Linked DNA regions of Homo sapiens: all the other regions are linked to region 1. The links are contacts of gene promoters, found by promoter capture Hi-C in blood cells and fetal thymus (Javierre and others, 2016). All regions are on one chromosome and are shown on one strand. The core of a region is centred on a gene start or on the middle of the fragment in contact, and the rest is flanking DNA. Distances in the headings are between cores, read along the strand shown. Region 1 holds the start of OTUD4 (OTU deubiquitinase 4). Region 2 holds the start of TTC29 (tetratricopeptide repeat domain 29). Region 3 overlaps SMARCA5 (SNF2 related chromatin remodeling ATPase 5). Region 4 overlaps LOC105377460 (a long non-coding RNA gene). Region 5 has its middle 11 kb from the start of SMARCA5. Region 6 overlaps SLC10A7 (solute carrier family 10 member 7). Region 7 overlaps SMARCA5 (SNF2 related chromatin remodeling ATPase 5).

Region 1 (3,051 bases), core at 513-3,012:
ATATTACTTTGAGTTTCTCTTTGAGTTTAAAAGGCAAGCTTTTAAACTCAAAAACAAGGGCGATCCATGTTTTAAGTAGTGGCAATACTCAGGAATTTTTTTTTTTTTGAGAAGAATGAGAAGTATATGCAATGTAAGTGTATTTTAAAAAGAAAAGCAACAGGTTTGACTTGAAGCTATATTTTTCTTTTCCGTTTTTTTTTTTTTTTTTTTGAGACGGAGTTTCGCTCTTGTTGCCCAGGCTGGAATGCAATGTTGGGATCTCGGCTCACCGCAACCTCTGCCTCCTGGGTTCAAGCTATTCTCCTGCCTCAGCCTCCCGAGTAGCTGGGAGTAGCCTCCCGAGTAGCATGTGCCACCACGCCCGACTAATTTTGTATTTTTAGTAGAGACGGGGTTTCTCCATGTTGGTCAGGCTGGTCTCGAACTCCTGACCTCAGGTGACCGGGCTGCCTCGGCCTCCCAAAGTGCTGGGATTACAGGCGTGAGCCACCACGCCCAGCTGAAACTATACTTTTCTAAACCTGATTTCAAAGTGTTTCTTCGCTACAACAAGTAAATTTGAGGCAGGGACATTTTTTCATTTAGGTAACGATAACGTTTGTATTCTCTAAAAGCAGCATAATTTGAGATACAATATTTAAACATTAAGAAATCAAAGACGCTCCAAGGAAAGTGAATACATGACTGATTGCTTGCACTGAAAATACTGAAAAGTGTCTAACGTAGTTTTTAAAAAATTTTTGTCGTTGGACTCTCACCACCTGGCCTGCCTTGCCCCCCATTCCAAGGTATTTGACTACATGTCTAAACCTATAGTAATGCTCCCTTTTCTTCTCCCTCTCCTCCACCATAGCCTAAAAGACTGAATTAGTTCCTATGATTAACCATGTATTTAAATAAGGACACCAGATGTTGTATCTTAGCAAAATAAAATTTTGGTGCAACAGAAGCATGCTGGATAAATTCTGGGTTCTAAAGCATAATTTAACTTTGTCAATTCCCTGCCATTCAACGTCGGAGGGTGGGAAGTTGAGCTGAAGCCTCGAGCACTGGTGGAAGCCATGGCCAGTCCAGTCAGCATGTTATCAAGCAATTTACAAGATGAATTTTTTAAGGGGGAAAAAAAAACCCTAACGTCTTCCGACAGTGACATGTCTCTGTGATGGGGTGCTCAGCTACAGTGACAGGGTGAACAAAAATGTCTTTGGCAAAGCCTTCATCTTGCCGTAGTACGTGAGCTGTACTACTAATAGCAATCAGCAGTCCACGGTTGATTTATGGACAGAGTGTGTCGTCCCGCACCGTGCCAGTTCCCGGAGCCTCAGCCAATTAGCTCTATTTTCTGCTTAAGCCGTTAAAGCCACCTCCATGGAAACACCAGGAGAGCAGGCCGGGGGGAAGGGAGCAGACAGGTGCGCCCTCTGGAAAGAAATACACAAAGGGCCGACACTGCGCCGCCGTGTCCCTGGCAACTCCACGCCAGCCCGGCGCGCGCGATTCCCGCGGCGCAGCGGCAGGGTTGGCGGGTGGCGCGCGCAGGTCGCCCCACATCGGCCGGCGGAGCCCCTCGGCCTGCTCGCGGACGCGGCGCCAGTGCAGCGCGAAGCCGGCTTGGGGCGGTGGCGGTGGCGGCGGCGCGCCCGCGCTGTAGGGACTTGTAGTCCGCGCGCCTCCCGGGCACCTCCCCCGGGTAGGCCGGCCAGCGCGTCCCCGCCCGCCGCAAGCCGACTTCCTGCGGCTGCCAAGACTACATCTCCCGCCGTCCTCTCCGCTGTCGGGCCGAAAGCGAAAACAAATTCTGGGCTGCGAGGTGCTGTTCTCTCCCGGGCGCCCCCACCCGCTCCCTGCCCCTCCGGCGCCCTCCAGCGAGGTGGGGAAACGAAAGGCCGCGTCTTTCTTTTTGGTTTCCTCGGCTCCCGGCGTGGGGAGTGCGCGGGGGCGCAGGCCCCGCTTCACCTGAGCCGGCCCAGCGTGCGCGCCAGGGGCGGGGGTTTTCTCGCTTCACACCGGTACGGAGGAGGAAACTTGTGGGGGCGGCGACCCCCGGCCTGGGTCCTGAGTCAGGCAGCGAGGCCGTCGGGAAGTGACTACTCACTCTCGGGGTTTTCCTTAATCCCGCTCCCCCCGTTTGTCGTGGGCGCGTGTTCGCTCCGAGGAGGCGGCCGCGTGCGGACAGCCATGCATTAGGCAGGGCTTCCCTATGCGCCCGGAGAGCGCGGACCGCTGCCTCGGGCCGCCGCCGCCTGCCGCCGCTCGCGGAGCCCGAGCCCCAGCCCGAGCCGCCGCCTGCCCCAGGCCGGGGCGTCGAGCAGCCGGCGGCCTGGCCATGTGGGGCTAGCCCTCGCCGCGCCTGGCCTGCAGCAGGACCAGCAACATGGAGGCTGCCGTCGGCGTCCCCGACGGCGGGGACCAGGGCGGCGCGGGGCCCCGCGAGGACGCGACGCCCATGGACGCCTATCTGCGGAAACTGGGCTTGTATCGGAAACTGGTCGCCAAGGACGGGTCGTGCCTGTTCCGGGCCGTGGCGGAGCAGGTAATTGCGGGGGGGCGGGGAGGGCTTCGAGGGGAGGCGGGGACGGCCCGGCGGGTCTGGGTGGGGAGGCAGCTGCGGGCTGTCCGGGCCGCCCACGGCCGGGGCTGCGCGTGCCCTGGCTGTCGTCACAGCGCCCCATTGTAACGCCGGAGTGGGACGCTGCTTTGCGTCTGAAAGGTGCAAATTGAAACTCGAAAGCCCGCAAATTAACGGGGTGTCTCTCTCCTGATGAAGAGGTAATGAGTTGAGGACAACTTGTGAGGCCTGCTCGGAGCTTGTACAGTTGATTTATTGCTGGGGACCTGGCGACATGATATTTTTTACTTTTGTTCCGCATTCACCTTCCTTCCCTTCGTTTGAGAAGCACCACGCTCACCCCACTCCAGTAAACCAAGTGTTTACTAGAAGTGGTGGATCAAACTTTACTTGTGGAACATATTTTGGTTTGCTGCTGGACTTTGGAATGTAGGGTAGGCAAGCTCGCCCATGTCACTTGAATCAAATGGGCAAACTGC
Region 2 (3,225 bases), core at 461-2,960, 1.8 Mb before region 1:
TGACTTAGCTAGATGGATAAATTGGCTTCAGGTCACGGGGATCATGAATGCCTAGCTCAGCGTTTTCCCATCAATCCTGTGGACAAAAGAGAAATGAAGAAAAAGCATTGAGAATGCAAGGCCACGAAAGAAATGAAAGTGGCAAATTCGAGCCTCTTGGGTTACGTGAAAATGCCTAAAAGCGAGCTAACTTCTGAAAGCAGCCCTGCTTGAAAAGCCTCAGCTATCTGGGGGCCCCGCCCGGCCGTCAGTAAGCTCCACCCCTCGCCAGACTCCGCCCCCAAGCCCGAAGAGTCTGGGAGCTGCCCCAATCCCGAGGCCCGGTTTAGCCTAACTCCACCCCCGGCCGTCATGCCTCGCCTCTCTGTTTCCGTGGAGACGCTCTCGGCGTCCCCTGTCTCCGCTCCGGCGGAGCCAGGCTTCGGAATCACTGAGAGAGGAGGGGGCAGCGCCAACGCCCAGCACCTGCCGCCGGTGGGGGACTGACTTCGGCGGAACGGAAAACTGGAGTTGTTTCCCTGGGCCAGTGCACCGAGGTTCGTGACGGCAGGGGCGAGGTTGGGACCGGACTTCCTCAGCTCCTTGGAGAGGCAGGCTGTTCTTCAGGCAGCCCCTTCCCTGACCCCTACAGCCAGCCCTTCCTCCATCAGTCTTTCTCAAGCTTCCTCAGTCCAGGCCCTCGCCACTTACCTCAATAAACGAATTGAAAGAGAAGTAGGGAAAGGCGCCAGTTCCTCTTGCTCCCCAGTTCACCTGACCCTCTGAGGGGAGTGAAAAACTAGGCATAGGATAAGTCCTTTAGTCCTGTTGAGAACTAGGTGGGAACAGAAAGGGAACTGAGATGCTCTCCGTTTTTGGCAAAGATAACTGTATCTCGTAAATTTGAGAGAACAAATGGTTATCCCTAATGTCACATTTGTATTGAAATACATCAATACATATACATATTTCAGATGTTTTGGCATTTCACTGATTTAGTGATTAGTTTCTCTCATAGGATCTATACTTGGGGATTTTCTTTAAAAGTTCATCTAAACTTAGATGGTAGGAAGTATTTGTTGTAAGAGTGAATCTTATTCCATGACTTGGAGCGGGGAGAGGAGTTACACTACTGAATGATTTTAAATTTTTCTTCTTTGCTATTATTCTTTGCTTCCTGATTTTCAGGCTGAAGTCTATAAGCCTGGAGAGACCATCAGCAGTAATCTGCAAATGTAAGTCACGTGAAATATGGCTTGCCTTCAAACTCATTTCCTGCTTGATTTTGTGATTTAGCCATCAATGTCAGCTGGTAGGAAATGTGTGTTTTCTATTTATTTTACTAAACAACCTATCTACCCATGAGAGAGTGCCAGAAGTGTCCAAAAATTATGATACCGAGAATAAACATTATTACTGACTCTTTATAAACTTAATTATGTTTTTTTTTTTACTTAGGGAGCATAATTAGTGATATTTCTTCTGTAGTTTTCATTAAACTTTCATAGTAAAAGAGCTTGGATAATATGAAAAGTTTTAATTCTTATGAATGATTTTTAGTAAAATCCTACTTGTTTTGAACTCGTGATGATGTATAATAAACTTGCTTACTGTGGTTTACTGGCTTTATTTCTCTAATCTCAGTTTTTACTCCAAAGTGACTGAACCCTGCAGACACTGGTCAGCCTCAGACATAGTCATTCTCCAAGTAGCCTCCATTTACATAGTAGTAGGTCTCCCTCCTTTGTGTTTCCTGATAAAGGCATCTCTGGGGATAGAGGGCAGGAGAGTTACTCTTTGAAGAATTTTACTTGGGGGCCAAAAATTTAAGCTCACACCATGGGACACATTCAGCCTGACCTAGCACTCTCAAACCTTTCATCCTGTATTTCTCCATTTTCATTTGTCTTTGCATGTGGGGGCCAAACTTAGAGATTGTAGCTGTGATACAAGAGCCAACCAGCAGATCAAAGAGTACACCAAATTTCTTCTGAATACCAACAGTGGAATGGCTTCAGGCGGCCTTTTGATCTTTGTCTCAGCACCCGATGATGCCACACTGTAGCACTGCCCACTTGCTAGCACTGGCGGAGGTTCCTGTGGGTCCTCCTAACAGGCTGATTCAGCCTGAGCTCCTGGGGCTAAGCTCATTTGGTAGCAGCCAAAGAGGTATCTTTCATTCTTCTTCTTTCTTACTCACCTGAACCTGAGCAATTTCCCTTCCTGCAGCCACACCATCTTGTGTGTTTTCCCCTGAGATGTTGATCTGGGAGAACCCTAAGGAGGTGCCATAACTAGTGGTGATATGCTCCATTTATGCTACAGGCCTGGGTCAGTCACCTCATAGCACTAGTCCCATTCTTCATTGTTGAGTCTAAATTGGAGCTCACATGGGAACTGAGAATGCTGTCTGACCAACACCAGGAAAATGATGCAACTCATATTAACAAAGACCAAAAGGCTTTCTTTACAGGTATTTAATTTAATGGAAGTACTGCAAACCCTGCTTGAACTTGTAAGGCATAAAAGATGGCAATTACTTAGATAAGAAACTAATTTGTTACAGGACCCCTTTAAATATTTGCTGCATTCAAAATATTAACTCTGTCATAAAATTCAGATCACACATTATCTGTTGTGTAAAACAAAATACCTTATGTGGCCACGTATTGATTCTGAGAAACAAAATTCACTTTCCCGATGGGCATAGGTAAGGTAGGATGTGGGGTTCAGAAACAAAGAGAAAGCCTGTTCAACTTCCATCCTGACTCTAAGCTTAAACTGTCCAACATAGATTGATTGAGGGATATTTTTTCCAACATGCTTTTTTTTTTCCACTTTATCATTCAGCTCTGATAACTTTTTTTCCACTTTATCATTCAGCTCTGACCACCCCCCATTCAGAGTTTGTGCCTTGAGGCTTGCCAGCAGGGCTTGCAGTACTTACATTAAACTAAATTTAAGAGTAAAGGTGCTCCTGCTGCTAATGTTCTCAGATCAGAGGAGAGCAAAATGAAGGAACTGGCAGCTGAAACTTTAATGGTAGGAAACGTTGACTCAGAATTTTGAAAAAAAAAAAAAAAAAAAAAAAAAAAAGCACAGTTGATCTGTATGACAAAGAAGACATATCCCTCTCCATGTATGTCATTTGCATTTGGTTTCTATTCCATGCTTACATTTTCTAACAAAAATCATCGAACTCAAGTAAACATCAAAAAGGATAAATTTTATATAACATGCTGGTAT
Region 3 (3,073 bases), core at 429-2,928, 1.6 Mb after region 1:
TATATTATATAAAATACAAATCCTATATAATCTGTATTTCAAACTCAGCTTTAGTATAATTAGCTAAAATGTTGCATTTCAAATCAGAATTTTCTATCTAGAGCACTTCAATTGCTTTATATAATCTTTGTCCCGAAAGACCTTTATAGTCTTTATTATTATAAAGAGAAATACAGACTAAGACTTCCTGATTCTACTTAGTAAAAAGCTAATCTTAGTGTCTTTGACTCAGATCTATCAGTCTAGTGTATAGGTAAATTCTGCTGACAATACCATGTTTGAATGCTACTCTGAAGAAATTTTAAATTGTAAACCCTTACTTCTTTTCCTTTATAAAAAGTCACTCTCTCATACTCACAGCTAGGAGTTATTTTATTAACTACCTAACTTATTAACAAGCAAATTACCTTTGTGTCAAGTGCTTTCTTGATGCTTATTCTTCTTTGAATTCTCGCCTCTCCCCTTTCAATCTGAGCCATAATCTTCTCTATGTCCTGGAGCTCGTTGCACCTTTCCCAAAACACAGCTGTAAAAGTTGGACAAAGTAAACAAATCATTTATATTTTTATTTCTTTAATGTAAAAAAAATGGGATCAACTGGATTATTTATCTTCTAATTCTTAAATTTCTGCTATTCTAAGCAGACTCACCACAGCATACCCTCACATGTTAACCTAATAATACAACTGACTTCAGGAAACACAACACATAATACTTGAAGTTATGCAGAGAAATTAAGATAAAAATGCAAGGGCAATTATCCAGTGACTTATTCTGATTTTCTTTGCTGTCGCTAGAGTTAGCTAGGGTTAAAAAATTTTTAAAAAGGAAACCATTACGCCATTTCTGGAAACAGAACATTTTCTAATTTGTAAAAAATAATGAAGAAGGTACTAACTACACTGTGACAAAATTAGCTAATCACAACATAATTCAGAATAAGAAAACAAGAACCTTCCAACAGCTCTTACTAAACTCCAACAGCCTGCTTAAAAGAATTACCTGAATATTCAATGACTTCTTCTGGAGTTTTGCCTTCTACTTCTCTTGCTATATTTTCAATATCATCACGACCCCACTTCTCATTAGCTTTGATAAACTGGTTAAAATCTCTCTTATTCCAATTGGTAAATCCCTTCACAGGAACAGAAACAAAATATTTAATCACAGCACATTAAACTTGGAAAACATGCTATTAGCAAACCTTCTAAATATTACAAAAACAAATTTTCACTAGTTTATTAAGTTCTTTTAGAGTGGTAACTTTTCGTGTACATAAATATACACTTTTGACAACACATTATATATTGCTCAAATACCCAAGCAATTAAATATGAGTGGCTGAGAGTAAGGAATACTGTATGAAAAGGTGACAGTTTCACTGAGCTTTGAAGGATTACTAGCAGTTGGCCAGAAAGAGTGAATAACATAAAGGGCAAAAATATGAGCAAGTAGAAAAATGGAAGGAAAATGAAGCTTTAAAGGTAAGTCAAAGGCCAGATTCTGAAAGACCTTGATGAACACCAAAGGATGTTTAAAAAATAACCAAGCCAAGATTTATAGTTGAAAATGGTGACTGGGTAGCAATGTGGAAAATTCATAGGAAAGACGGGAACATTCAAAGTAAGGTGATAAAAAAGATACCCACTCTACCGAGCCAGAGTAATAAAATCTGTAGTCTTCTCAACTACCTCAACTAGTGACAATCAGATGGAGCATTTATCCACATGCCCATACTTTATTGTCTCCAATTATTCCATCTTTAAAAGCAGAAACTTGTATTTATTTTTATGCCCCAACATAACCTAACACAGTCCTTTACAACAAACTGTTACTAAAGTTTGTACTGATTAAAGGCTATACCTGTGTTAGAAGCTTCTCTTTTTCCTCTAACTCTTCATCATTAAGGGATTCAGCTTCATCAATTTTAAGCTGTTCTTCTTTTTGTGCCTGTGCTGCATTAGGCAGCTCAGGATTTCGAGGTACCTAAAAGATATTTTTCTATGCCATCAAATCAGTAAATTTTAAAGAGCATGTGATGAACCAACTAACTGACATTTCACAAGTTTCAATTCAACCAGGAAAGAAAATATACTGATACATTGCATGTATTATGTTAAAAACAAACCAGATTGGTCATGAAGTCTTATTTTTTCTTGTTAAAGAAAAACAGACCCAAGTTTATGTATTTCATACATACAACTAGACTAGGCTAAAGCAGTATTGTTTCACACTAGGTCCAAATTAGATAAATATTTATAACTAATGTTTATACCTTCCATAATTTCTGGATAGGAATGAACAGAAAGGCAGATAATTTCAATTACCTTGTACCCAATAGTTTTTCTGTAAAACAGAATTTCTTTTTCCAGTAATTCAAATAAACGTGGAGGAAAGAACTGGAAATCCTGAACATTGGGTTGTTTTGGAGGTCGAGGAGCCTAAAGAAAAACAAAAATAAGTGTTATCCATAAAAAAGAAATTTCATTTTAAATGTATCCTTAGTCCTCACTTCATAAACCACAACAGCCAATTCTGCAAGCAACTGAATGCATCTTTCAATAAAACTGAATTTATATCTTAATTTTAAATGCACAGATTCAAAATTAATTTTTGAAAAATGTTAACTAAAAACAGAAGAGAGTACACTCTAAAGAAATGCAAAATGTAGGAAAGAGGCAGTGGCTCACGCCTGTAATCCCAATACTTTGGGAGACCAAGGTGGGCGGATCATGAGGTCAAGAGATCAAGACCATCCTGGCCAACATGGTGAAACCCCATCACTACTAAAATTACAAAAATTAGCCAGGGGTGGTGGTGGGTGCCTGTAGTCCCAGCTACTCGGAAGGGTGAGGCAGGAGAATTGCTTGAACCCGGGAGGCGGAGGTTGCAGTGAGCTGAGATCGCACCACTGAACTCCTGGTAACAGAGTGAGACTCTGTCTCAAAAAAAAAAAAAAAAAAGAAACACAAAATCTAATTATCAATCTTTTTGCAAGAATATATGAAAAAAATTACATTTTCAAAATTTTTAGATATTTTTATGCTGTGTCAGTCAACTCACCTTGGGTGCT
Region 4 (3,129 bases), core at 312-2,811, 1.0 Mb after region 1:
GCATGTTTAATATAGCAGGAGGACGTATAGTTTATAGAGAATAAACCTGGGCCATAATGACAGACTGCCTGGGTTCAAATCCTGGCTCTACCACATGTTTAGAAAATAATACATATCTCATAAAATCATGATGAGGAATAATATATTGCCCACAAGAAGTAACTAGTACAATGCCTGATATGTAGTTAGTATTCAATAACTTATAATGTCAGAAGCAAGAGTAACATAAGCAAGGGAGTAACAATGTGATAGGCATCCCATGGTATTATAATCTAAAAATAAATGTATTATCTTTGAGGTCAGCTGGCTCTCAGGGCATGTAGAGACTCACTTATGTTTGTTGCTCCAGCAAGCCACCGAGTTTCTGTCCTCTGACCCAAGACTGCAGTCAAAACAGGGGAAAGAACAGGGATATTGGGATCTGTAGTCTTAAAATTTTATGAAATATTACCAGTCTCTTGGAACTCATTTTAAGGAAATTGGAAGTCTATCACTAAAAATTACCCTTGGCTATTTGCTCATTGATTATTTGAAACAAGCAATACAACTGCTCCTCTAACTGGGGCATATTTGGAAGAAGGGTGAGAATACCATCAGAAAATTCTGTTACTGGCATCATAATCACATTCAGGCATGAGAGATAATAGGGAGTTCCACAGTCACATGGGGGAGCTTTCATTTCCCTGGGGGAATCTGGATATTTGCTGATTTCTTCTATGGCAGCTAACTAGATTATAAGCAGGAAAATGCCATGGAAGTGGGGAGGAAGTATTAACACTTTTAGAGCTTTTAGCGGTTAGTCAGGGCTGGCATAACAGGTTAAGACTAGAGCACCAACCGCAAAGCCTGTTTTCCCCAAAAGACACTTGCTGAGTTTCAGAATGGCGCAGTAGGCTGAAAAGCTAAATTGGGAAAAACAGCAAAATCCTACCAGAGAGAAGGGACCTGCAATAAAGCATATTAATATCTTTCTCAAGACATTTCCACTGAAGCTGCACACTTAGGAAACTAAAAAGCTGAGGTCAAGATTCTGCATATGGGAAAAAATGTTTAGGCATGCAAAGTGGCAGAAAATGTGGCAAATAATCAAGATTTTTAAAAATGAAAGCTTATGGTTGTACACCTAGAGTGTGAATGCACTTAATGTTATTGAACTATACACTTAAAATGTTAAATGATAAAATTTTGTTATATATATTTTATGATAATAAAAACATAAATAAAAACTGAACTACAGATATCTATATATTGGAACCAAGAGACAAATACATTAAAATAATTATGATTAGCATATTCAAGAAAGCAGAGTGAGTTACATAGAATAAATGAAATAAGTAGAATTTCTTTTTTTGTTTTTTAAATAATTTCAACTTTTAGATTTAGAGAGGACAGGTGCAGGTTTGTTACATGGGTATATTGCATGATGCTGAGATTTGGGGTATGATTCATCCCATTATCCAGGTATTGAACATAATACTCAATAGTCTGTTTTTAAGCACTTGCCCTCTTCCCTTCTCCCCCTTCTAGTAGACTCCAGTTTCTGTTCTTGCCATCTTTATATCCATGAATATACAACGTTTAGCTCCTGCTTATAAGTGAGAACATGTAGTATTTGGTTTTCTGTCCCTGCATTAGTTCACTTAAGATAACAGCCTCTGGTTGAATCCATGTTGCTGCAAAAGACATGATTTTGTTATTTTTAAATGGCTGTGTAGTATTCCATGGTGTATATGTATCACATCTTATTTATTTAATCTATAATTGATGGGCACTTAGGTGGAGTCCATGTCTTAGTTATTGCTAATAGTGCTGTAATGAACATAAAAGTGCATGTATCTTTTTAGTAGAATGATTTATTTTCCTTTGGGTATATACCTAGTAATGGGATTGCTGGATTGAATGGTAGTTCTAAGTTCTTTGAGAAATATCCAAACTTCTTTCCACAGGACCTGAACTGTTAGGTTGATGCACAAGTATAATAATTTACATTCCCACCAACAATGTATAAGCTTTCCCTTTTCTCTGCAGTCTCGCCAGCATCTGTTGTCTTTTGACTTTTTAATAATAGCTATTCCGACTGGTGTGAGATGATATCTCATTATGGTTTTGATTTGCATTTCTCTGATGATTCCTGATAAGGAATATTTTTGTACGTGTTTGTTGGTTGCTTGTACATCTTCTTTTGACAAGCTTCTGTCTTTCACCCATTTTTAAGGGAGTTATTTGTTTTTTGCTTGTCCAATTGTTTAAGTTTCTTACAAATCTGGATAGTATACCTTTGTCAGATACATAGTTGGAAATATATTCTCTCATTCTGTAGGATGTCTCTTTACTCCATTGATAATTTATTTTGCCATACAGAAGCTCTTTGGTTTAATTAGTTCCCACTGGTCAATTTTTTTCTTGCAATTGTTTTTCAGGACTTAGTCATAAACTATTTTCCAAAGCTAATGTCCAGAATGATGTTTCCTAAATTTTCTTCTAGGATTCTTATAGTTTGAGGTCTTACATTTAAATATTAGTAGAATTTCAAATATAATTGAAACTTATAAAAATCAAATGTGTATTCTGAACTGAAAAATTTAATATCAGCATCAAAGAACTAATGATATAGGTTTGACAGCAGCCTAGACACAGCAGATAAGATTGTTAAAAGTCATTACATAGTAGCCAAGCTGAAGCACAGTAAGGAAAAAAAGAATGTAAAAAATGTGAGCAACAATAATTAAAAGGTCTAATGTATGAAAAATTGAAGTCCCAGAAGGAAAAGAGAGACAATATTTGAAATCATAATCAAGATTTTTCCAAAACTGCAAATAATATGAACCCAAAATTTAAGAAACTAAGAAAATACCAAAGAAAATGACAAGAATATACATCATAATCAAACTCCCAAAAATATAAAACAAAGAGAAAATCTTAAAAGCAATTAAAGGACTAAAACATATTATCTTCACTGAAGGATCAATAAGACCGATGACTGATTTCAACAAAAATTATGAAAGCCGGAAGATAAAAAATGGTATCTTCTAAGTGTCAAACAAACCAGCCCCTGAAAACCTGGACATCTATACACAATTAGAATACCCTCAGAAAAAAAAAAAAAAGAAAGTCATTTAAATATAAACA
Region 5 (2,993 bases), core at 447-2,946, 1.7 Mb after region 1:
GGCATGAACCCAGGAGGCAGAGCTTGTAATGAGCCAAGATCGCACCACTGCACTCCAGCCTGGGCAATAGAGCGAGACTCCATCTCAAAAAAAAAAAAAAAAATACATGAATAAAAATAAAGGGAGGAAGCATGAGTAAGGAGGGAGTGACTTGAGACAGAGAGGCAGAACTAACATTTGTAAAGACAAGGGAAGGATGGAGGATTATGAAAGAAGAATTTCAGTTTGTAGCAGAGCTCTGAGAAAGTTTTGGCTGGGCTGATGGGGCATCTTTAAGCCAAAGTTGCTCATTAGATGAGTAGTATATTCCATGAGAGTGTTCCTGCACTAGTACCACTGCCTGCTGGGAGTAGCCTGAGAAAAGTTGGCCCTAAGCACAAATATGGAGTAAGTGGGGAGTAGGGATGAGAGGATGGAGGGATGGGGAGGTGGATCCAGAGGGGCTACAGCTGGGGCTGCCATAGTAGATCTGAGTGTCATAGCTTCATGGTCACCACAAGAATATATACACATATTATAGAAAGACAAAGAAGTATACTTTCAACAAATTCATCATCTTTTAAATTTAACAAATTTCAGCTAATTTTACACACACACACACACACACACACACTATACAATCTTCAGGGTGAAAAATAAAACATATATTTATCATTGAACCCTGATTTTGGACTCACAGAGATCCCAGGTACTCAGATACAATTTAGATGAAAGAAGATTTGTATTTTGATGATGATAGTGATGATAATGATAATCATAACTAAAGTTTATTAGTTGCATGTAGTGTTTCAAGTTTTTTATGTTTTGACTCATTGGCCCTCACATTAGCCCTTGTGAAGGGGGTAATATTTGTCTCCATTTTGCAGAGAAACAGACATAGAAGATAGAGTGGCTTACATAGTATTATACAGTCAATGTGTGATATGGCAGATTAATTAGACTAAATTGCATAAAAGTAAAAGATGAAACCTGTAGCTCAAGGATGGTAGCTTATTGAGATCGTGGAAATAAATGAAGGTCACCCAAACAAGAACAAACAGGTGCTATTTATTCAGAACTTGTTATATTGAGGGACTTAGCTATCGTCACTTGCTCTTGGCAAAGTAGGACAGTGGTAGAGTGGGAACTGGAAAAGCTTTATAGTATTGTGCTCTGAGTAGAGCTCATTCACATAGAGGAACTGGAGGCAGGCTAAATAAAAATAAGACATCTAGGATGACTGGTTTGGGAAGTATATTTGGCTTTCTCTGGTTGATCCTGAATTGAAAGTTGTCCTGATGCAAAAAATAGGGAAGTAAGCAGTCATTGACCGAGTTGTGACCATACTGAGCTGTTGCTGCAGAGGTTGTGGTATAGCTCCTGCTGTGGTTTGAATGTCTGTGTCTCCTCCAAATTCATATATTGAAATTCTAACTCTCAAGTTAATGGTTTTAGGAGGTAGGGCCATTTGGGAGGTGATTAGGTCATAACACCTCCACAGAATGGGATTAGTTTTCTGATAAAATAGGCCCAAGGGAGCTCGTTTGTCTTTTCTACCATGTGAGGACACAGTGAGAAGGCTCCATTTGTGAACCAGGAAGCAGGCCGTCACCAGGCACTAAATCTGCCAGCACCTGGATCTTGGTTTTCCCAGTCATCAACACTATGATAAATAAATTTCTAGTTTTCTTTTTTTCAGTCTACACAGTTGATGGTATTTTGTTATAGCAGCCCAAAGGGACTAAGATAGTTTCTCCAACTAGTTGCTACAGACATTGTGTGTGACAATTCTGTTGTCGTATAGAGTCAGTTTGTATATTCAGTCCCTCAAGGGGAAAATCACCCAACTTATCTTAATAATTCTGCTGACAATAGTTTGCGTCTATTTAATAGTAATATCAATAAAATGCTATTTAGGTTATCTTAAATGCCAATAAAATTTAACATATTAATGTTTAATTTTTAATAAAACATTTAATAAAAATGTTTAATAAAAAGTATTAAACAATTAAATATATAAATTATATATACACATATATGTGTATATGCTGTACCATTTGTACATATGTATATATGTACAATATATATACAATGTATATACACACATATGTATACATACTATATATGTGTGTATGTATATGTAGTGTATGTAAATACAACAGTGAAGAAGCCTAGTTCCATGAAAACTCAAAAGGTTAGTGCCTCTGCTAGTTCCTATATTAAATTTTACCTGAGAAAGTGTTTTACAATGTGTGATTATGACCAACTGAAAGCTTCAACAACCATTCTCCAGTACTCTCTCAGTTAACTGCGCATCTGGCCATCCTGAATAAAGTCTTCATTTCTCATCCTCGTGCTGCCAGGGGTGGCCATGTATATTAGTCTGTTCTCACACTGCTATAAAGAAATATCTGAGACTGGGTAATTTATAAAGGAAAGCAGTTTAATTGACTCACAGTTCCACATGGCTGGGGAGGCCACAGGAAACTTACAATCATAGTGGAAGGTGAAGAGGAAGCAAGGACCTTCTTCACATGGTGGCAGGAGAGAGAAGTGTGAGTAGTGAAGAGGGAAGAGCCCCTTATAAAACTATCAGATCTTGTGAGAACTCACTCACTATCATGAGAACAGCATGGGAAAGCTAACCCCAAGATCCAGTCACCTCCTACCGGGTTCCTCCCTTGACACATGTGGATTATGGGGATTACAAGTCAATATGAGATTTGGGTGGGGACACAGAGCCAAACCATATCACCATGTGAGTGAAGGATGAGTGCAATTCTTCATGCTTCACTCAGATAAGAAAGAACTTCTATCTGTGTAAGCCACTGCTATTTTGAGCCCCTACTGCATATCACTAAACTACATTCAATAATACCAAGTTTAATTTTTATCCTTTGAATAATGCTAGCCTTTGAGACTGTGATTTTCAAAACTAACTGAGAAAACACTATTTAGAAACAGAGACTCAAAAATGTTTTTATACATACAGCAGGTTCCCTTTAATGGAAAAC
Region 6 (3,131 bases), core at 402-2,901, 1.1 Mb before region 1:
GACAGGGGCTTGCTCTGTCACCCAGGCTGGAATGCAGTGATGCCATCATAGCTTGCTACAGCCTCAAACTCATGGGCTCAGGTGATCCTCTTACCTCAGCCTCCTGAGTTAGCTGAGACTACATGCAAACACCACCATGCCCGGCTAACTTGTAATTTTTTGTAGCGACAAGCTCTTGTTATGTTGCCCAGGCTGGTCTTAAACTCCTGGCCTCAAGTGATTCTCCCACCTTGACTCCCCAAAGTGCTGGGACTATAGGCATGATTCACCGCAACTAGCATCTGTCAGGTTTTTAACTTCCTTGACTTACAGTCAAACCAGCACTTTCTTTGATAAACGACAGCATATAGCTTGAACATTTCTCCCTCTCTGCACCCCCTCCCCGCCCTGTCCCCTGCCATAGTCATCTACTAATGATTTACTTCGAATTTGTCTGAAGCCTAAATTAACTCTCACATAGCCTCATTCTCTGTTCTCAAATTCCTGGCTTGCCTGGAGAATATCTGTACCTTTTTTTTTTTTTTTTTCTTTTTTGAGATGGAGTCTTGCTCTATCGCCCAGGCTGGAGTGCAGTGGCACAATCTCGGTTCACTGCAAGCTCCGCCTCCTGGGTTCATGCCATTCTCCTGCCTCAGCCTCCCAAGTAGCTGGGACTACAGGCTCCCGCCACCACGCCTGGCTAATTTTTTGTATTTTTAGTAGAGATGGGGTTTCAGCATGTTAGCCAGGATGGTCTGGATCTCCTGACCTTGTGATCCGCCCACCTTGGCCTCCCAAAGTGCTGGGATTACAGGCGTGAGCCACCACGCCCAGCCCAAGAATTTCTGTACTTTTAAAAAAATCTGGCTGGGTGTGGTTGCTCACGCCTGTAATCCCAGCACTTTGGGAGGCCAAGGTGGGTGGATCACGAGGTCAGGAGTTCAAAACCAGCCAGGCCAACATGGCGAAATCCCATCTCTACTAAAAATACAAAAATTAGCCCAGCGTGGTGGCGTGCACCTGTAATCCCAGCTACTCCAGAGGCTGAGGCAGGAGAATCGCTTGAACCCGGGAGACGGAGGTTGCAGTGAGCTGAGATCACGCCACTGCACTCCAGCCTGGGTGACAGAGCAAGACTCCATCTCAAAAAAAAAAAAAAAAAAAAAAAAAAACTAATAATCAGAGATGGGGCATTAGCTTTGCTACTTTGTAATACATTACTTTTTACTTTTCTCTGTCCTAGTTGCTAGGAAATGAGTTGATTCATCAAGCCAAGAGTCAGCTATCCAATGACCTAACCATTCTGCAACTTTGGGAAACTGCAAATTTAAAAAAAAATAAGCAACACACACATACATTGAAAAAGCTTAGAAAAGGAAAGCAGTAATTGGAAATCTTTTAAAAATATATAAAAAGTTAAAAAGTTTGGTAGGCTGATAACTAGAGTAACAGAAACCTATATTGTCATTAGAGTGGCAAAAGAAACTGTTAATGAAGGAAAAGGAAGAAAACAAATATTTGTATATGTGTTTTAATTCTGATCAGTACATTTCCAGTGAGATATCTCAATCTGCCTTTCACCATAGCCCTGGGAGAAGCAGGATGGGAGAATGGGAAAGGGAAGCAGGCAAGGAAGATGGCGATGATCATTAATGGTAAGTTTTCTTACCATTTCAGAGGAGGCAACTAAGCCTTGGCACCCTGGGTAGCTTGTTCAGTGCCACCCAGCTAATGACGGAAGAGGTCTTCTCTGAAAACGAGCAGAGACAAAACACAGGTACAGAGGTTAACAAAGAAGAGGCCTCACTTGGAAGTTTCCTCCTCTGAAAATAGTGGGCTTAGACAGAAGTATCTCAAAGGACCTTTTCTGTTCTACATTCTGTGATTCTACTAGTAAAACCTGACATGTTTTCCTCTGTGGGTACTGCAAAGGAAGGCAAAATAAACATTATGTGGAAAACACTGATTGAAAGCTTTGTAAGAAAGAATAAAAAGACCAGTTGGGAAGAAAAGGAAATAAATATCTCAAGAGAAGGCAAAGTGATCAAAAGAATCATTAAAAACAGGATAAAAAGAAAATCAATATTAAAAAGAGATAAGGTAGAGTTAGAAAATAAATAGTAATGTGATTCCTTTCAAGAATGTGAGCAGACCCAATAGAGATGTTAATCAGTGAGAATAATTTTAGTCATTACTACTCAAATATGATGTACAGGACACTTGATTTTTCTGGGTCTTGTCATGACCTTGTACCATGAAGTCCCCCTTGACAGAGTATGGCTAAGGGTGGATTATTTACCAAGATAGCTGCCCTCACCCATTACATTTTGTAGTGTTTTTGGTTTTAATATTGTCTTTCTCAAAAGGGCAAACTTATGACCAAGGTTTGGGGCAACCAACTTACTAGTTGTGTGACTTTAGGGGAGTTGCTTAACCTACTTGTGTTTCCAGTTCCGTTTTTGGAAAAAGCAGAGCAATAACACTATCTGTTTGTATGGCTTTTCTGAGAAGGAAGTAATACTGGCTGCAACGTGCTTAGAAAAATGCTCAATAATGCTTATGCTGTGGTAATTTACCACCCTCCTGAAGAGAGGGTTAAGTGAGCATCTGCTCTATCAGCTTTCCCCGATACAGCGCTCCAGTCCTACATAGCTAGAGTACAAGTCAACCCTATTGAGGAGGAATATTGTTTTTAACCTTAAATGTTCCCTTTTTATGCCTTAAGGTTCTAATCCTCCTTCCCACTCATGGACTTTTTGTCGATAAGACTGTAGAGCAGTGTTACTGAGAGCAATGAGCCAGAAATCTCCCAGTGTGGCCCTAGCTTTAGCCTCCTTACCTGAAACAGAGGACAAGTAAGCGTATCTTGCAAATATCCTCTTTAGCCACATTGTGAATGCTGCTCTAGTGAGCAGCAGCCAGCGCCAGATTAATTCAGAGCCTCCTTGACCAGAGAGACTGTGACACACTGGAAATGTGCTGTAACCTTGAAAAGAACAAGATATCAAGCCGAACACAGTTTACTAAAGGAAAAGTGTAGTGCAAGACTCTAGGAAGAAAACCAAATGCATAAACCCAGATGCAGCCATGGCTGATATAAACAAGGGCCACAAAAGACAAAGTTTTTGAAGTGCTCCTAACACCACAAACGT
Region 7 (3,335 bases), core at 836-3,335, 1.7 Mb after region 1:
TCTGCAAAGTCCTATAATATTAGGATGCTCAGATTGTTAAAGATGGAATACACAGAAGGGCACCTAGGCCAGCCTCAGCCTGGCTGGTTCAGTGGAGGTGATGTCGCTGAGTCTTGGACTAGGTATTAGTAAAGAGACCAGGAAAAAGGATTCTAGGTGTAGCAAAAATGATAAGCAAAAATAGATTAGAATTACCACAATGTTTACAGAAAACTGACAGTGGGGTCAGCAATCTATCAAATTAAAGCTCAATATATGAAGAAGTAAAACAGATGCCAAAGAATGTTAAAAAGGTTAGGTCATGGAGGGGCACAATTTTGTTCCCCAGGGGACATCTGCAATGTCTAGAGAAATTTTTGGTTGTCACAACTGGAGGAATGTTACTACTGCCATCTAGTGAGTAAAAGTATCAGGGATGCTATTAAACATGCTACAATACACAGGACAATCACGTTCTCCCCTCTCTCCTTACCCCTCTCAGATATACCCAGACCAAAATGTCAAAAGAGGCTGAGAATTCCTGAGTTAGGTCATTAAGGGCTTTATATAACATTCTTACAAGCTCCTGCTTTAACCTGCTTAGCAGGGTATTTTAATCTGGTGTCTGTTAGAGAAGTTTCTCTACCTACCAACTTTTACTTGTGAACCGTCACAGGAAGCTGTATGTAGAAACAAAGCTATACAGCAAGCAAAAACATACCAACTGTGCTCATAATGCAATATTAGCAGTTGTTTATACACAATGTAGCTAGATTTAAGAAAAAACAGATGGATCTTTAGCCCTTTCAAAAGTGAACCTGTTAGATTCTTCCATGGAATGTAAATTGAACTAAGCTTTAAAAACTTGTCTATTAAGGCCGGGCGTGGTGGCTCATGCCTGTAATCCCAACACTCTGGGAGGCCAAGGCAGGCAGGTTGATAACTTGAGTTCAGAAGTTCGAGATTAGCCTGGGCAACATGGTGAAACACTATCTCTACAAAAAATACAAAAATTAGCTGGGCATGGTGGCCAGAGCCTGTAGCCCCAGCTACTCTAGACGCTGAATGGGGAGAGACTGCTTGAGCCTGGGAGGCAGAGGTTTCAGTGAGCCAAGATCATGCCACTGCACTCCAGCCTGGACGACAAAGTGAGACTGTCTCAAAAACAACAACAAAAACTTGTCTATATTAATTATTATGCAATTCTTCTTCCCCCCACTGTATTTTGTATAACTGTAAGAGAATACTTTCTCCCTTAAGTCAGGATTCCATTCTAGGTTCTAACACTGAAACAACCACACATCACCCCCTACACTGATTGTAAGATGTAAGAGTTAAGTGTCAGAATTCAAGCAGATCTGATTCTTAAGCCATTGTGTTTTTTATTAACAGGAAAATAATCTACTAATTTAAACCTTTATCCTTTTTCCCATCATAAATATGCTTTAACACTACTCCAAAATACTTACCATATGAAGCCTCTCAACTAGTTTTTGATCCCCAAGGCAGTTGTTTGTATCAAACCAGGAATCAAAGTCCTAGATAAACAAACAAAAAATATACTCAGATCAGAGATAATATTAACAAATACCCTATAATACCAGATATAGAAATGATTTCTAGAATTAGTAATTTGAATTGTAACCCACAAAAAAAAATCACTTAGTCCAATCCTGGTTTTCATGTGTCATTGTTACTAATTTTAAAACAAGTAGTTCAGAAATCACACTACCTTCTAAACATTCTTCTCAAAAACATCAAAATAACAAGTTTCACAGTAAAAAGTTGGAGAGCAAGTTCTATAGGATTAGAAAATTAATATTCTTGTAAAGTATCTTTCAAGTTTCATAAAAGCTTGAAAATTAAAACATTTTATAGTTTGTTCTCTGAGACCATTCGCACTACTCAAATACAAGTTTACGAACAATGTCAATTTTAATCAAACTTACTAAATGAAATTGAAATTACCAGCATTTCATTAATATTTGGTTACGATTTCAACAAGGGCAGTTTCCCTAACCTCATCTCTTGAACATATGTATTATATATGTGCTTTGTTTTTGAGTAAACATAATCTTAGAATTCACTGCTTTAAAGTAAATGAAAGTGTCAATGTAGTGAGAAACAGGAATTATCTCAAAAACATCAAAATACATAAAATCGAAGCTAAAATTGCTTTTGGAGTCTGATTAAATATCTTTTTACAACACAATCTATTCTTTCAAAACAATCTTCAACAGAAAAAAAACAAAATTAATTAATACCTTTTTATAACTTAATTGTACAAAAATATACTAACATGGAGCTCTTCAAATCCCTCCAATACACATAAGACGCCAGCTATGCAAACAAAGCTTCAAAAATAAACACTGGTCCAGGCAAAAAAAACTGCAATTTCTAATAGCACAAACTCTTGACATAGTTATTATATTACTATTAACAGTTCAAATAGCTAATTAACCATTACTATCCTTTCTATGACTATAAATAATCCATAAAGATTAGGTTCTATTTGTTTGTTAGACTATAATATAAGAAAAGCCAGACAGATTTCACTAAATTTGACAGTCATCCTTGGGACTTAAAACATAAGCAATGTGAGGTATACAAATCACTTCAGGAATACCTTGAGCAGCACCTTAAAAACATAACCAGTCAACCTAGAGCCACTGAAACAAAGTCAGGCCAACCTGACTTACCAAATAGGAGTGACAATTTATGCCATTTCAGATAGAGAAAACAATGATTTAAAGAAGACTGAGGCCTGGTGTGGTGGCTCGTGCCTGTAATCCCAGCACTTTGGGAGGCTGAGGCAGGCAGATCGCTTGAGGCCAGGAGCTTGAGACCAGCCTGGACAACATGGCAAAACCTCATCTCTACAAAAAACACAGAAACTAGCCGGGCATGGTGGCACACACCTGTGATCTCAGCTATTCGGAAGGCTGAGGCACAAGAATCACCTGAATTCCGGAGGTGGAGGCTGCAGTGAGCCAAGATCACACCACTGCACTTCAGCATAGGTGACAGAGTGAGACTACGTCTCAAAAAAAATAAAATAATAATAATAATAATGAAATAAGATTGAAACCAAAGGCACAAAAGTAAATTCCCATTATACAGAGACAACCTAGGAGATAACACCAGGCTAACTATGTAAATAAAAGCATAAAAAATTAATAATAACCTCAAGCCATGCTAAAAGGCAGGCCACTTTTATTACAAAAATATATAGCATTAAGCAAAATATTATTATTAACCAGAAAGCACCAGGAAATACTTACATCTGCTGAATTAAACACATCTGGCAACAGAAAGTTAAGAAGTGACCACAGCTCATGCAAGTTGTTCTGAAGAGG

What was found. The method cuts DNA at HindIII sites, captures the fragments that hold promoters and counts their contacts. A CHiCAGO score of 5 or more calls a contact.
Region 2: a contact is called between a fragment that was not itself captured here and the fragment with the promoter of OTUD4 in region 1, in 1 of 17 cell types (fetal thymus). The highest score is 6.8, in fetal thymus.
Region 3: a fragment that was not itself captured here is called in contact with the fragment with the promoter of OTUD4 in region 1 in 6 of 17 cell types (total B cells, total CD8 T cells, total CD4 T cells and 3 more); the score reaches 10.4 in total B cells.
Region 4: a contact is called between a fragment that was not itself captured here and the fragment with the promoter of OTUD4 in region 1, in 3 of 17 cell types (fetal thymus, activated CD4 T cells and total CD4 T cells). The highest score is 7.6, in fetal thymus.
Region 5: a contact is called between a fragment that was not itself captured here and the fragment with the promoter of OTUD4 in region 1, in 2 of 17 cell types (non-activated CD4 T cells and total CD8 T cells). The highest score is 7.4, in non-activated CD4 T cells.
Region 6: a fragment that was not itself captured here is called in contact with the fragment with the promoter of OTUD4 in region 1 in 2 of 17 cell types (M2 macrophages and M0 macrophages); the score reaches 6.8 in M2 macrophages.
Region 7: a contact is called between a fragment that was not itself captured here and the fragment with the promoter of OTUD4 in region 1, in 10 of 17 cell types (non-activated CD4 T cells, naive CD8 T cells, total CD4 T cells and 7 more). The highest score is 14.7, in non-activated CD4 T cells.

The regions. Positions count from the first base shown.
Region 1 is chr4:145,179,300-145,182,350 of GRCh38, reverse strand. It overlaps OTUD4 (OTU deubiquitinase 4), which reads left to right and starts at 1,762. Exons shown (of 21, transcript NM_001366057.1): 1 at 1,762-2,536. The coding sequence starts at 2,378. It overlaps LOC124900794 (a long non-coding RNA gene), which reads right to left and starts at 158. Exons shown (of 2, transcript XR_007058294.1): 1 at 1-158. RefSeq lists silencers at 1,356-1,755, 1,846-2,075, 2,196-2,655 and enhancers at 1,001-1,830, 1,831-2,660. The HindIII fragment of the contact is 3,984 bases long and covers 41-3,051 here.
Region 2 is chr4:146,943,020-146,946,244 of GRCh38, reverse strand. TTC29 (tetratricopeptide repeat domain 29) reads left to right here and starts at 381. Exons shown (of 13, transcript NM_031956.4): 1 at 381-536; 2 at 1,168-1,214. It overlaps TTC29-AS1 (TTC29 antisense RNA 1), which reads right to left. Exons shown (of 7, transcript NR_188447.1): 3 at 691-814. RefSeq lists a silencer at 249-388. The HindIII fragment of the contact is 2,093 bases long and covers 664-2,756 here.
Region 3 is chr4:143,544,838-143,547,910 of GRCh38, reverse strand. SMARCA5 (SNF2 related chromatin remodeling ATPase 5) reads right to left here. Exons shown (of 24, transcript NM_003601.4): 17 at 3,064-3,073; 18 at 2,328-2,441; 19 at 1,864-1,986; 20 at 1,003-1,135; 21 at 408-526. Among named protein-coding and RNA genes, the nearest start is that of SMARCA5-AS1, 32 kb to the right of the region's middle. The HindIII fragment of the contact is 399 bases long and covers 1,479-1,877 here.
Region 4 is chr4:144,167,022-144,170,150 of GRCh38, reverse strand. The region is part of intron 9 of LOC105377460 (a long non-coding RNA gene); the gene reads right to left. Among named protein-coding and RNA genes, the nearest start is that of GYPA, 28 kb to the right of the region's middle. The HindIII fragment of the contact is 901 bases long and covers 1,111-2,011 here.
Region 5 is chr4:143,500,755-143,503,747 of GRCh38, reverse strand. No RefSeq gene overlaps it. Among named protein-coding and RNA genes, the nearest start is that of SMARCA5, 11 kb to the left of the region's middle. The HindIII fragment of the contact is 1,117 bases long and covers 1,138-2,254 here.
Region 6 is chr4:146,287,727-146,290,857 of GRCh38, reverse strand. All of the region lies in intron 9 of SLC10A7 (solute carrier family 10 member 7), which reads left to right. Among named protein-coding and RNA genes, the nearest start is that of REELD1, 75 kb to the right of the region's middle. The HindIII fragment of the contact is 607 bases long and covers 1,348-1,954 here.
Region 7 is chr4:143,528,640-143,531,974 of GRCh38, reverse strand. SMARCA5 (SNF2 related chromatin remodeling ATPase 5) reads right to left here. Exons shown (of 24, transcript NM_003601.4): 8 at 3,261-3,335; 9 at 1,449-1,517. Among named protein-coding and RNA genes, the nearest start is that of SMARCA5-AS1, 15 kb to the right of the region's middle. The HindIII fragment of the contact is 500 bases long and covers 1,836-2,335 here.